2 separate regions of the Homo sapiens genome follow, and region 2 is linked to region 1. The links are contacts of gene promoters, found by promoter capture Hi-C in human tissues and cell types (Jung and others, 2019). All regions are on one chromosome and are shown on one strand. The core of a region is centred on a gene start or on the middle of the fragment in contact, and the rest is flanking DNA. Distances in the headings are between cores, read along the strand shown. Region 1 holds the start of POU3F2 (POU class 3 homeobox 2). Region 2 has its middle 85 kb from the start of MIR2113.

The links. Contacts are between HindIII fragments. The study calls those that stand out against the background at their distance.
Region 2: a contact is called between a fragment that was not itself captured here and the fragment with the promoter of POU3F2 in region 1, in 2 of the 25 tissues and cell types used here (mesendoderm cells and neural progenitor cells).

What each region holds. Positions count from the first base shown.
Region 1 is chr6:98,832,393-98,837,014 of GRCh38, forward strand. POU3F2 (POU class 3 homeobox 2) reads left to right here and starts at 2,182. Exons shown (of 1, transcript NM_005604.4): 1 at 2,182-4,622. The coding sequence starts at 2,482. The coding sequence ends at 3,813. RefSeq lists a silencer at 2,123-2,192 and enhancers at 2,831-2,900, 2,899-3,495, 3,496-4,091. The HindIII fragment of the contact is 21,173 bases long and covers 1-4,622 here.
Region 2 is chr6:98,107,467-98,112,088 of GRCh38, forward strand. No RefSeq gene overlaps it. Among named protein-coding and RNA genes, the nearest start is that of MIR2113, 85 kb to the left of the region's middle. The HindIII fragment of the contact is 5,005 bases long and covers 119-4,622 here.

The DNA.
Region 1 (4,622 bases), core at 932-3,431:
CATGTCAGGAGAAGATGCGGCTGGCGGGCTGTCTGTGCGCTCCCCAAGGCCCAGGGAAAGTCACGCGCCTAGCACAGGGGACGCAGGGCCGAAGCCGGGAGAAGGCGGTTCTGCCCGCCACCCAGCCCCTTGGCTCGCGGTTGCGGAGCCGCGGGCACCAGTCGCTGAGTCTGCGCGCTGAGGCTCGGACTTGTTCATTTTTTCCTAGCTAGACAAAGTTATGGGATTCCTAGCAGCCCCCAGGCGCGCGGCCAGAGTGGCCCCGCGCTTGCGCTGGGACGGAGCGACACGCTGTGTGTGTCCTCGCCTCGCCTCGCCGCGCGGGTGCGCGCGTGGTGGGGGTGCAGGTCCGTCCTGCTGGCGGCCTGTGGGCTCGCCCCTCCCCTATCCATTTCTCTCCCCCACACACGCTCATAAACACAGGACACGTGGAAATTCTCAGCCAAAGCGTCTTGCCCGGGCGGGTGCTCAACGTGGTGATTTATAAACAGCTCAGCCACTCTCCAAAGAGCATGACTCCTTGTTAGTCATGATGAATTTTCTGGCCCGCTCCAGTCTGCTGTCTGGATTCAGATGCTCAGAGGCCCCAAAATGCTCCCTCTGAGCGTTGATTTGGCTGCCCTCTCAAGCCTACGACCGCCGGCAAAACCAGCGATAGAGCGAGGGGTGAGAGGTGGGGACGCGATCCAGGTTCCCTGGGGTCTGTCATTCCCTTCCCGGCAGTAACTGTTGATTCGCTTTACAGCGCCCATGTACACACCCGGCCCTGCGTGGCGGTCACGCCGCTCCAGCCTGGGTCCGCGCCCAAGTTCTAGCTACCGGGCTTGCAGGCTCGGAAACTCGCAGGCGGCACCTGCTCTGGGCGGCTAAAGAACTGATGGCGCGACGCGCCCGCGCTCCGTAGAGCGGCGCTGCGGGTGCATGGTCCCATAGTCTTGCTCTGGAGTTCACTGCTGAAAGCTGAGCTGGGAGCTTGGCCAGGGAGCGCCAAAGACATAGACTAACCCCACCCGCTAGCGCCCACCGAAGTTACTGATTAGGAAGGTTCCCCTGGCATCAGCCCATTTGCTTCACACACTCTTCCTCCTTCCCAAGGGGCTAACGGAAAAGTTGCACCTACCAGCGGTAGGAGCACGGGGAATCGCGCACGCAGGCCCTCCGCGCGGCTTCCCGGAGCGGCCTTTGGCGACTGCGCCGCCCCTACAAGGCCGCACACCCCTCGCCAGCACTCCGGCAGCCTCGCACAAGACGGAGCCCACGCAGGCTTCTAGTTTTCTAAACCAAAAACTGCACGCGCCGGCGTGTGAATCTGACGGAGAGACTTTTAGAGTTTTGTTTGGTTTTCAGTTCAGACCGCTACGCTGTCAGAGCAAGCAACTCCGAGCCTTGATGGGAATGACTTACAAGCCGCGGTGCGGGCTGAGCCTGCCTCTCTCGGGGTTCTTTCCCCAAGGGAGTGGGAGACAATTGGGCCTGGAACCTAAAAGGAAGAGAGCCTGTGCTAGCCGCGGGGTAGAGGGGAAGGAGAAGAGCTTTGGGCCGAAGTGTCCGCACACCCTGGAGCAAGAGACACTTGTGCACTGAAATTCTAACCGTGGGATGCAAGGAGAGTTGAACAGGGGAACAGGTCTGGCTCTTGGCTCTAGGTTTAAGAGATACACACTGTGTGTGTGTCCCTAGGTGAATAAAAATCCGACTCCCGCTGGCTCGGTGCGACCCAGCTTTTCCCTTACCCCCTCCGTTTCCCCATCTTAAAGCCCTATTGGGAAACGAAAGTGGACACCACTGCCTCCCGCCCCCCACCCCAATCCAAGTCTTCCAAGTGTCTGTGGCCGATAAGAGCACCGGGACCGCCCCCCTGCCGGTCTTCTCTGCCTGGGAGACAGATGGGGGGCGGGGCCCATCCGAGAGAGGGCGGAGGAGGCCCCGGGTGAGGAAGAAGCGGGGGGGTGAGAACTGAGAGAATCTGAATCGGGAGGCGAAGGGGACGGGGAGGAGGGCTAGGAGGACTCCGAGCCCGGGGGAGGGGGAGGGAGTAGCTCTGCGCCAATCAGTGGCGCCGGCCTGGGAGGTTGCTAGCGGTATCCACGTAAATCAAAGGGCGCGGAGCCAATGGGAGGGGGCGGAGGGGGCGGGGCCCAGGCGCGTGCCGCTGCGAGCCGGCGCTGCCAAGAGAGCGGGAGAGAGCTGGAGAGAGCAGGGAGAGGGGGGAGCGCCGAGCTAGTCAGAGAGTGAGCGAGAGCGAGAAGGAGGGAGAGGAGGAGAAAGAGAGCGAGGGCGGGCGGGAGGCGGCGGCGGCGGCAGCAGCAGCAGTAATAGCAGGAGCAGCAACAGAAGGCGTCGGAGCGGGCGTCGGAGCTGCCCGCTGTGGGAGAGAGAGGAGACAGAAAGAGCGAGCGAGGAGAGGGAGCCCGAGGCGAAAAAGTAACTGTCAAATGCGCGGCTCCTTTAACCGGAGCGCTCAGTCCGGCTCCGAGAGTCATGGCGACCGCAGCGTCTAACCACTACAGCCTGCTCACCTCCAGCGCCTCCATCGTGCACGCCGAGCCGCCCGGCGGCATGCAGCAGGGCGCGGGGGGCTACCGCGAAGCGCAGAGCCTGGTGCAGGGCGACTACGGCGCTCTGCAGAGCAACGGACACCCGCTCAGCCACGCTCACCAGTGGATCACCGCGCTGTCCCACGGCGGCGGCGGCGGGGGCGGTGGCGGCGGCGGGGGGGGCGGGGGCGGCGGCGGGGGCGGCGGCGACGGCTCCCCGTGGTCCACCAGCCCCCTGGGCCAGCCGGACATCAAGCCCTCGGTGGTGGTGCAGCAGGGCGGCCGCGGAGACGAGCTGCACGGGCCAGGCGCCCTGCAGCAGCAGCATCAGCAGCAGCAACAGCAACAGCAGCAGCAACAGCAGCAACAGCAGCAGCAGCAGCAGCAACAGCGGCCGCCGCATCTGGTGCACCACGCCGCTAACCACCACCCGGGACCCGGGGCATGGCGGAGCGCGGCGGCTGCAGCGCACCTCCCACCCTCCATGGGAGCGTCCAACGGCGGCTTGCTCTACTCGCAGCCCAGCTTCACGGTGAACGGCATGCTGGGCGCCGGCGGGCAGCCGGCCGGTCTGCACCACCACGGCCTGCGGGACGCGCACGACGAGCCACACCATGCCGACCACCACCCGCACCCGCACTCGCACCCACACCAGCAGCCGCCGCCCCCGCCGCCCCCGCAGGGTCCGCCTGGCCACCCAGGCGCGCACCACGACCCGCACTCGGACGAGGACACGCCGACCTCGGACGACCTGGAGCAGTTCGCCAAGCAGTTCAAGCAGCGGCGGATCAAACTGGGATTTACCCAAGCGGACGTGGGGCTGGCTCTGGGCACCCTGTATGGCAACGTGTTCTCGCAGACCACCATCTGCAGGTTTGAGGCCCTGCAGCTGAGCTTCAAGAACATGTGCAAGCTGAAGCCTTTGTTGAACAAGTGGTTGGAGGAGGCGGACTCGTCCTCGGGCAGCCCCACGAGCATAGACAAGATCGCAGCGCAAGGGCGCAAGCGGAAAAAGCGGACCTCCATCGAGGTGAGCGTCAAGGGGGCTCTGGAGAGCCATTTCCTCAAATGCCCCAAGCCCTCGGCCCAGGAGATCACCTCCCTCGCGGACAGCTTACAGCTGGAGAAGGAGGTGGTGAGAGTTTGGTTTTGTAACAGGAGACAGAAAGAGAAAAGGATGACCCCTCCCGGAGGGACTCTGCCGGGCGCCGAGGATGTGTACGGGGGGAGTAGGGACACTCCACCACACCACGGGGTGCAGACGCCCGTCCAGTGAACTCGAGCTGGGGGAGGGGCAGAGCGCGGGGCTCCCCCTCCCCTTCGGTCCTTGGCCCTTTCCCGGCCCTCTTGTTCCCTCTCTAACTTCTGATTGTTCTTTTATTTTTAATTATTATTTCCCCGTCCCTTAAAAAGACAAAAAAAATAAGGCAAAAGGAAAGCAACTAAGACACTGGACTATCCTTTAAAGGTAGCAGGTGTAATGATGTGTTTTGACCTTTGCAGGCGAGTAACCAGGCAATGGAGTGGAGTGTCTCCTGGAGAGAGTGAGGAGAGTGTGTGATAGCTAGAAAGAGAGAGAGACAGAGAGATGGCAAGCACTGAGATAAATACCTGGCAAAACTAAATAAATTACCAAAAAGGAAAAAAAATCCACCAAACCATGATAAACACAAAATGCAGCTTCCTGATGCTTAGAGTTGGCACATGCTGCTGTGTTTATTTATTGTGGATTCCCATCAGGAAAGAGGAAAAAATACACATGTTCTTTCATATAGGCAAAATTTAACCACATAAATTTGCACTGCAAGAAAATTGAAGTTTACGTGAACAAATTCATGAGCATATTTTCTCTTTCTCCCCACCGTTAATTTGGGAGTTGCCGTTTTGGGGGATTTTGTTTTGCTTTGCTTTATTCATCGGAGAGAGTTGAAGCCAGCTCTTGGCCACTCTCCATTTCTAATGTTCTTGTGTTGCCCCTTCTTCGTACTGTTTGTGAACTTTGGTTACCTTCACATTCCCCTTACGAGGGTGTAACATCTATTTGTTCCTCTTACCAAAGCAAAAGGATTGGCTTCATACAAAATA
Region 2 (4,622 bases), core at 1,371-3,870, 720 kb before region 1:
TTGAGAGCAGCCTGGCCAACATGGCAAAGCCCCGTCTCTACTAAAAATATAAAAATTAGCTGGGTGTGGTGGTGTACGCCTGTAATCCCAGCTACCTGGGAGGCTGAGACGGGAGAATCGCTTGAACCCAGGAGGCGGAGGTTGCAGTGAGTTGACATGGTACCATTGCACTGCAGCCTGGGCAACAGCAAGACTCCATCTCAAAAAAAAAAAAAATGTACAAATTATTTTATGAAATTAGAAAAATAGTTACAAAACAGTGCAAAATAAAGTAGAAAGAGGGCTTACCATATAAAAGTTAAAAATTTTAAATTAATAAGGTAAAATATAGAAAATAGTAAATGATAAATAAAATCAAAGCTGTTCATTTAATAGGTATTGTATAAAGAAAAACACTTCAGGAGACTTATTAAAAATAAAAGTGTGTAAATATTGCAGGTTTCATTCCTGACCACTGGAATAAAGTAAATAGTGCAAGAAAGCAACTTACACAATTGTTTTTGGTTTCCCAGTGCATATAAAAGTTATGTTCACTTTATACTATTGTCTTTTAAGTGAGTAATGATAGCATCATGTCTAAAAAATGTACCTAACTTCATTTAGAAAAAAAAAACTTTATGGCTAACAAATGCTAGCAATTATCTGAGCCTACAGCAAGTTGTAATCTCATTGCTGGTAGATGGTCTTGCCTTGATATTGATGGCTGCTGACTGATCAGGGTTGCTGAAAGTTGGGTGGGGTATGGCAATTTCTTAAAATAAAACAAAGTTTGCCATAAATTGACTCTTCCTTTTACAAAAAGTTTCTCTGTAATATGCAATGCTACTTGAGAGCATTTTACCCAAAGTAGAACTTTCAAAACTGGAACTCAAACTCTGCCACTCCTTTATCAACTAAAATGGTGTAATATTCTAGATCCCTTGTTGTCTTATTAACACTGCTCACAGCATCTTCACCAGGAGCAGATTCCATCTTCAGAAACCAGTTTCTTTGCTCATCCATAAGAAGCAGTTTCTTATGAGTTTTATCATGAGATTATAGCAATTCAGCCTTATCTTTGGGCCCACTTCCAATTCTAATTCTCTTGTTCTATCTACCACTACTTCCTCCACTGAATCTTGAACCCCTCAAAGTCATTTATGAAGGTTAGAATCAGTTTCTTATAAACTCCTGTTAATATTGATATTTTGACATCCTCCCATAAATCACAAATGTTCTTAATGATGTCCAGAATGGTGTATTATTTCCAGAATGTTTCAGTTTACTTTTCCCAGGTCTATCGAAAGAATTACTTTCTATGGCAGCTGTAGCCCTACAAAATGTATTTCTTAAATACTAAGTCTTGGAAGTAAAAATTAGTCCTTGATTCATGGACTGCTGAATGGTTGTTATGTTAGCAGCCATGAAAACAAAGTTAATCTCCTCGTACATCTTCATCTGAGCTCTTGGGTGATTAGGTGCATTGTTAACGAACAGTATAGCTTGAATGAAATCTTTTTTTTGAGCGGTAGGTCTCAACATCAGTGAGCTTAAAATATTCTGTAAACCTTGCTTTCAACAAATGTGCTGTCATACAGGCTTCGTTGTTTCCATATATAAGGCACGAGCAGAGTAGATTTAGCCTAATTCCTAAGGGCCCTGGGATTTTTGGAATGGTAAATGAGCATTCGCTTCAACTTAGTCACCAGCTGCATTAGCCCCTAACAAGAGAGTCAGCCTGCTCTTTGAAGCTTTGAAGGCAGGTGTTGACTTCTCCTTTCTAGCTATGAAAGAACCAAATGACATCCTCTTCCAACATGTAAGGCAGTTTCATCTACATTGAAAATCTGTTGTTTAGTGTAGTCACCTTTATCAATGATCTTAGATAACTCTTCTGGATAATTTGCTGCAGCTTCTATATCAGCACTTGCTGCTTCACCTTGCACTTTTATGTTATGGAGATAGCTTCTTTCCTTAAATCTCATCAACAATCCTCTACTAGCTTCAAACATTTCTTCTACAGATTCCTCACGTCGATCTGCCTTCATAGAATTGAAGAGTTGGGGGCTTGCTCTGGATTAGGCTTTGTCTTAAAGGAATATTTTGGCTGGTTTGGTTTTCTATCAAGACAATCACTCAAACCTTCTCCATATCAGCAATAAGTCTGTGTTGCTTTCTTCTCATTCTTGTGTTCACTGGAGTAGCACATTTAATTTCTTTCAATAACTTTTACTCTGCATTCACAAGTTGGCTAACTGTTTGATGAAAGCAGCCTAGCTTTCACCCTGTTTCGACTTTTGACATGCCTTCCTCACTAAGCTTACCCATTTCTAGCTTTTGATTTAGAGTGACTCTTCCTTTCACTTGAACACTTACACGCTATAAGTGTTGGCCTCATTTCCATATTGTTGTGTCTCAGGGAATAGAGAGGTCCAAGAAGATGGAAAGAGGCAGTGAATGGCTGGTCAATAGACCAGTCAGAACACATAGAATTTTTACAGCATTTATAGATTAAGTTGGCCAACTTAAATGGGTGCAGTTTGTGGTGCTCCAAACAATGACAATAGTAACATCAGAGATTACCAATCATAGGTTACCATAACAGAAATAAAAATGTTTTAAATATTGCAGGAATTGCCAAAATGTGATGCAGAGATGCAAAGTGAGCACATGCTCTTGGAAAAAATGTCACCAATGGACTTCGCAATGCAGGGTTACTGCAAATCTTCAATTTGTAAAAAATGCAGTATCTAACAAAGTGCATTAAAGTGAAGTGCAATGAAAGGAGATATGCTTGTATATATATAATCATGAATCGCATGGTGATATTTTAGTCAGTGATGGACTACATATATGATGGTGGTCCTATAATATTATACTGAAGCTGAAAAAATTATATAGCCTAGTGGTATCTCAATGATACTGACCCTATGTAAGTCTAGGCTAATATATGTATTTCTACCTATAGGTGAAAGTCTAAATAAATAGCATTACAAATAGGAGTAATTAATCAATAAGTTGGACTGCTGTAATACAACATATACAAAAATTTCAGGTGTTTTTGAAAGGATCTGTACAAATACTTTGGAGATTATATTTGCAACCTGGAATCTGCGAGGTGCCTTCTTAACCAAGAATAGGAATCCAGTTGCCAGAAAAGAATTGATAGGCTTGTTTGATAATATAAAAATGAAAACTTTGTAGAGCTAAAGATTAAATTGACCAAAAACTTGAGGTGTAATATAAGGTAGAAAGAAAGAAATAAGGATCCCTTACATTGTTTCTAATCATTCTCACTAGAATATTATGCATTACTTTTGGACAAATTATTTCACTATTATAATTAGATAAATAGAGTAATGCTTTCAACTGAAATGAAGTCAAAATTCATTCATTTAATTTATTCAGCAAATACATTTCGGGCACCTGTTTGTTATAGACTTGTTTTAGGTCCTGGGGATACAGCTGTAAACAGAACTGAAGAAGAAAAACTTGCCCTCAGGAGCTCACATTCTAAATGAGAAAAATTAATAGGTAGAAAGTAAAATATAAGATGGAAAACGTAAATTATACATTAAAGAAAACAATACAATTTGCAATATGTCAGATAGTGATAAGTGCAGTAGATAATAACTAGGGTAGTGTTATAGGAAGTATGACGTGTGTGTGTGTGTGTGTGTGTGTGTGTGTGTACACAATTTTAGACAGCATACCTAGAGAAGAATGCTCTGGGAAGGTAGTGGGTTAGTTAAGACCTGAAGGAAAAGGGAAACAAATCCTATGAATATTAAAGTTGAGATTATAAGAGGCAGTGGAAAGAACAACATCAAAGGATGTGAGTTGGGAGCATGCCTAGTTTATTTAAAGGACAACGGAGAGGCAAATATGATTTTAGCAGAATGACCCGGCTTGTGAAAAAGAGAGGAATAGATGATAAACTCAGAGGTGACAGGTGACCAGGTTAGTTATAACTTCTTACGTTAGGAAGTCTTTGTCTTTTACCCTGAGTAGGATGGAGAACTATGAGCATAAAAGTGCATTGGTGCACTTTACATTTTTGCAGAATTCCTCTGGCTTCAGCTAGGTATAGTTTGGAGGGGGGCAACGTGAGAGCTGGAGCAGTTGAGAGGCTTTAGTAATAATCTAGGAGGGAGATAATGATAGTTTGATTTAAAGTGGTAATGGATGTGAAAAATGTAAAATATTACTTATAGCAGAAATATAATGGATAACAAGAGTTGACCACTGGGCTTGGCAAAATAGAGTTCACTGATAACTTAGTTTAGGTGTAGTGGAGAGTGGCAAAAAGCCTGTTTGGAGTGGAGTCAAATGAAAGTGGGAGGAGAAAGTGAGATTAGATGTCTTCAAGGAAGTTTTGATATAAAAGGAAGGAGAGAATTAGGCGGAAATGGGAAGGGAAAACGTAGAGAGAAGAAAATTATGGTATGCAAGAAAGGAAAGATTTGCTTGAGCGGTGTACTTGATTAGGCCATATGCGATGTAATCCAGCAGGTGAATGGAGGATTTGGCCTATGTAGGAGTAAGAACAATTCCTCCACAGTAATAGAAAAAAAAAAAGGCAAAATGTAAGGTTACAAAGGTAGGTTTCTAGAAGTGTGAAAAAAATGGAAAAAACTTATGGA